2 separate regions of the Homo sapiens genome follow, and region 1 is linked to region 2. The links are contacts of gene promoters, found by promoter capture Hi-C in human tissues and cell types (Jung and others, 2019). All regions are on one chromosome and are shown on one strand. Each heading gives the region's core, a stretch centred on a gene start or on the middle of the fragment in contact. The rest is flanking DNA. Distances are from core to core; before and after follow the strand shown.

The links. Contacts are between HindIII fragments. The study calls those that stand out against the background at their distance.
Region 1: a contact is called between a fragment that was not itself captured here and the fragment with the promoter of TYMS in region 2, in 1 of the 25 tissues and cell types used here (dorsolateral prefrontal cortex).

Annotation. Positions count from the first base shown.
Region 1 is chr18:2,419,913-2,422,612 of GRCh38, forward strand. No RefSeq gene overlaps it. Among named protein-coding and RNA genes, the nearest start is that of METTL4, 150 kb to the right of the region's middle. The HindIII fragment of the contact is 6,885 bases long and covers 1-2,700 here.
Region 2 is chr18:656,203-658,902 of GRCh38, forward strand. It overlaps TYMS (thymidylate synthetase), which reads left to right and starts at 1,451. Exons shown (of 7, transcript NM_001071.4): 1 at 1,451-1,745. The coding sequence starts at 1,541. TYMSOS (TYMS opposite strand RNA) reads right to left here and starts at 2,089. Exons shown (of 2, transcript NR_171001.1): 1 at 1,640-2,089. RefSeq lists enhancers at 1,175-1,676, 1,677-2,176, 2,044-2,163 and silencers at 1,414-1,593, 1,764-1,813. The HindIII fragment of the contact is 10,369 bases long and covers 1-2,700 here.

The DNA of each region.
Region 1 (2,700 bases), core at 19-2,518, 1.8 Mb after region 2:
ATGAAAGTGATTCTAGCAGTCATCTATATATCTCATTTAACCGCCTCATTTTGTACATGAGGAAATCAAGGCTTGTGGAGGTAAAGTCACGGGCCAAAAACTACAAAGCTACTGAGTAGCACAGCTGGAAGTAGAATCCAAGTGCCTGGATTCCTGGTCCTGTGCCTTCTCCACTATAATCATTGCCTGTATCGTCCACAGTTGCTGCATTATTTTTAAATAGATAACAGAAAAGGCAATGAATGCATGTATTCCTTTACTCAACACGTATTTATTGAGTGTTCACTATGGGCCAGGCATATTCAAGACACCAGAGATACAATAGTTAACAAAACACACAAATTTTCTGCCTTCAAAGAGCTTATACTTTTGAGAGAGGGGAGGGAGAGAGAGACAGAGAGAGAGAGAGAGAAGCAATTGCTAAGGAAAAATAAATAAATTAATCACAGAAGGAAAATATGGGGAAAGGAAATAAAATTCCTAAACAGGGCAGCCAGGGAAGGTGACTGTAAGTAAAGACCTGAAGGAAGTGAGAAAAGTAGCCATGCAAATATAGAGGGGACAAGCATTCCAGACAGGAAGTAACAAGAGCATAGGTCCTGAGGTAGCAGCTCCTGGTGGGGTTCAGGGAACAGGAAGGAGGCCAGTGTGGCAGGTGTGAGTCAATGAGGAGAGAGGCAATGAAGCCAGAAAGGTTGGACGGGAGACAAGTTTGCAGAGCCGCTTCATAGGTCAGTAAGGACTGCAACTGAGTCGGATGGGAAGCCTTAGAGCAGTAACATGACCAGACTTTCATTTGAACAGGATCACTGTGGCGAGGTGCTGAGAAAGAGGACAAGCATAGGCACAGGATGGATGAACTGCTGTAAAAATCCAGGGGAGAGACGACGGTGGTTTGGACCGGGATGGTAGAACTGGGGTGATACCTGGTAGAGTAGACAGAATATGCTGATGAGCCACACGCAAGGTATGAGAGAAAAAGAGGTATTAAGCATGACACCACAGGTTTTGCCTTGAACAACAAGGAGGACAGAGTTGCCATTAGCTGAGTCAGGAAGAATAACGGGGAAAGCTGATTTGGGAAGGGGGTACCGAATAGCAAAAGCTCCATTCTGGACATAAATTTGAGGAGCTCATTAGACATCAGTGTAGAGATGTCAACTGGGTGGTCGAATATGTAAGTTTAGAGTCCAGAGGAAAAATGCTAACTGAAAGTATAAATTTAGGAGTGAAGCAAAAAAAGGTAGTTAAAGCCATGAGAAGGCATGAGATCACCGGGGGAGAGTGAGGATAGATAGAGAGAAGAGGCTCGATTACTGAGCCCCAGGGTTCTCCAACATTTAAATGTGGAGAAGATGTGCTAAAATAAAAATATCAGGGAGCTAGAAAAGCAGCAAAATAATTATGGCCTATTCTCTCTGAATGAGTTCCCATCTCCATACTGCACATCCTTTTATGCCTAAATTCTTCTTCCCTTTTATTAACTCATTTTTGTAAATTGTATCACTCCATTTTATTATTTATCTTACTCGTCAGTCTTCACTGCAAAGGACTCCTAATGTTTTTCAAAATCCAAATCCCCTCCCACTTTCTGAAAGAAGACATTTGCTGCCATCAAATACATTCAGAAGACTATGCCACAGGCTCTGAAGTCTCTTCAACATGGGGAGATACAAAGATGAACAAATAAAGTATTTGTTGTCAAAGACATTATTATAAAAGTGTATAGTTTCCCCAGATGATTATTTGAAGGAGGAAATGGCCATTTGTATATATATTTCTATATATTTCTATTTATGTGTGTGTATGTATACACACACAACAAATATTTATTCAATGCTTGCTAGGTGCCAGCTATTCTGTTAAGTGTGTTGTTATGTATATGCATTCTCTCAATGTCCTCCCAATAATCCCAAAAGGTAAGTACTATTATTATCTACATTCTAGAGGTGAGGAAAATGAGGCTTTCAGATGCTAAATAACTTGCCACGTTTATCAGGTTTAAGAGGTACTGAATCTAGACAGTTTGCCTCCTGAGCCCCTACTTCTTAAACTTTTGCCCAGAATTCTAAGCTGGCCACCAGTGCAGAAGACGGATTTGAGCCCATGCAGCTGTCTTGCTTGGTCTGCATGGTGTTTGTTTTGTTTTTAAATGGACTTTGAATGCCTTCAGGGGATGCACACATTCAGTAATCACAGCCCACACCAGTCATTACAGCCTTCATTTTTACCCTTCATCATTTAACTTAGCAGCTGCACCGAGTGCATTGGAGTTGTTGACCCTTGCTCTACCATCCTTCTTCCCTCGATCTTTAACAGGCTCAACATTACTTTCAGTCCAGCACATTTATGCCCTACTTCTTGCATATTCACACATACCCACACATACACCACCCATCCCAACACCAACGCAAATACCTCCAACACTGCCATCAGGAGAAATAAAACAAAATAGGATTATTCTTTCTTTCCATCCTTGATATTTTCCCCTATGAAAGTCATTTGTAATGTTTAAGGTCCTCTCCCAAATTTACCCCTCCCAATCTAATTCAAATCCAACTCCCACAATGTAAAGGCAAACTTGTTTTTTGCCTAGAAACACAGGACTATGCCCCGGTGATGTTTTGTAACAGGAGGGACCCATCCTCCGAGAGCTGCATCATTCATCATTTGTTGGCTGTTGTTATACCTCTCAACTCT
Region 2 (2,700 bases), core at 201-2,700:
TCAGTAGAGAGGGTTTCACTATGTTGGCCAGGATGGTCTCAATCTCCTGACCTCGTGATCTGCCCGCCTCGACCTCCCAAGTGCTGGGATTACAGGCGTGAGCCACCGCGCCCAGCCCTCTATTGATTCCAGATCTTTAGATAACAATTCTTTCAACCAAATGTATAAAAAATCAAGTTGTAGCCCAACCACCTTGGGGACATGTTCTCAGGATCTGCTGAGGGCTCTATCACCGGCCATTGGTCACTCATATTTGGCTCAGAATAAATTTCTTCAGATATTTTACAGAGTTTAACTCTTTTCATCAACAGTTCCCACTCCCCAGTGTTAATGTTATAAACAATTCAGTAAAACTGGGAAATGTGGTCTATTAAAAACTTGGGGCCGAGTGCGGTGGCTCACGCCTGTAATCCCAGCACTTTGGGAGGCCAATGTGGGTGGATCACCTGAGGTCAGGAGTTTGAGACCAGCCTGGCTAACATGGCGAAACCCCGTCTCTACTAAACATGAAAAAAAAAAATTAGCCGGGCGTGGTGGCGGCGCCTGTAGTCCCAGCTACGCGAGAGGCTGAGGCAGCAGAATTGCTTGAACCCAGGAGGCGGAGGTTGCAGTGAGCCGAGATCGCACCATTGCACTCCAGCCTGGGTGAGAGAGCGAGACTCTGTCTCAAAAAAAAAAAAAAAAGACCGCCAGGGCTCAAACAAAAAACCTCGGAAAAGCCCTGGCGGTCTTTTTTTTTTTTTTTTTTTTTTTTTTGGGACAGTCTTGCTCTGTCGCCCAGGCTGGAGTACAATGGTCGGATCTTGGCTCACTGCAACCTCTGCCTCCCAGGTTCAAGCAATTCTTCTGCCTCAGCCTCCCAAGTAGCCACCACGCCCAGCTAATTTTTGTACTTTTAGTAGAGACGGGGGTTTCACCATGTTGTCCAGGCTGGTCTTGAACTCCTGACCTCAGGTGATCCACCCGCCTCGGCCCCCCAAAGTACTAGGATTACAGGCGTGAGCCACCGCGTCCAGCGCCCTGGCGGTTTTTAATCAAGTAGAAAAGCTGCATTATACCACTTGCTTCGGTTGCTTCAGTGAGAACGAAGAAATGGAAATGCAAATCCCTTATTAGTTGTAGGAAACAGATCTCAAACAGCAGTTTTGTTGACAAGACCGCAGGAAAACGTGGGAACTGTGCTGCTGGCTTAGAGAAGGCGCGGTCGACCAGACGGTTCCCAAAGGGCGCAGTCCTTCCCAGCCACCGCACCTGCATCCAGGTTCCCGGGTTTCCTAAGACTCTCAGCTGTGGCCCTGGGCTCCGTTCTGTGCCACACCCGTGGCTCCTGCGTTTCCCCCTGGCGCACGCTCTCTAGAGCGGGGGCCGCCGCGACCCCGCCGAGCAGGAAGAGGCGGAGCGCGGGACGGCCGCGGGAAAAGGCGCGCGGAAGGGGTCCTGCCACCGCGCCACTTGGCCTGCCTCCGTCCCGCCGCGCCACTTGGCCTGCCTCCGTCCCGCCGCGCCACTTCGCCTGCCTCCGTCCCCCGCCCGCCGCGCCATGCCTGTGGCCGGCTCGGAGCTGCCGCGCCGGCCCTTGCCCCCCGCCGCACAGGAGCGGGACGCCGAGCCGCGTCCGCCGCACGGGGAGCTGCAGTACCTGGGGCAGATCCAACACATCCTCCGCTGCGGCGTCAGGAAGGACGACCGCACGGGCACCGGCACCCTGTCGGTATTCGGCATGCAGGCGCGCTACAGCCTGAGAGGTGACGCCGCGGGCCCCTGCGGGACGGGTGGCGGGAAGGAGGGAGGCGCGGCTGGGGAGAGCGCTCGGGAGCTGCCGGGCGCTGCGGACCCCGTTTAGTCCTAACCTCAATCCTGCGAGGGAGGGGACGCATCGTCCTCCTCGCCTTACAGACGCCGAAACGGAGGGTCCCATTAGGGACGTGACTGGCGCGGGCAACACACACAGCAGCGACAGCCGGGAGGTAAGCCGCGTCCCAGCGGCTCCGCGGCCGGGCTCGCAGTCGCCCCAGTGATGCCGTGGCCCCCGAGGCGGGCGTCATCGGGCAGCGTTTGCCCAGTGCTGGAGGGTTAGGGAGAGCTGCCTGGGCTTGACCGCGCGCCGGTCTCAAAGTCCTGGCTTTGGCCCCTCCTCCGTTTTCCCCTGTGGACCATTCCGCTTCGCAGCGTTTTCAAAAACTGGAGCGAAAGTGATGTGGGCGGGGCAAAGGCGGCGGGAAGAGGAGAGCACTGAAGCTGGCGCGGGAACTTGGTTTCCTGGTGGCCTCCCATCCAATCCCCACGAACCAGCTTTCCTCTTAAACCTTGAAAAGAGAAATTCGGGAGTTCGAGTATAAGTTCTTAGTCGTCCTTTCCTCTTTCCTTTCCGACAGGAGCACCCCAGGCAAAAAATGTCTCGCGGGTCATTGGCGCCAGGCTTTCAGGGGACAGTGGGGCGGGGCGGGGTGGGCACAGGACGTTAGGCAGCCGTTGGCCCTCCCTAAGGCCACACCGTCCTGCCGTCCTGGATCCTGCGCCAGCTGCGCGGGGGAGGGGACTCGAAGGTGTGTGAGCCAGGGGCTGACCTTGACCGCTCAGATAAATGGAGCGCAGCCTTGACACAGGGGTGGAGGTGGTTTTGAATGGGGAAACCCATTCGTGGTGAAGCAGATTCACTGTAGCTAGCGGAAAAGCCCTCCGGCCCACGGACCCATCTAG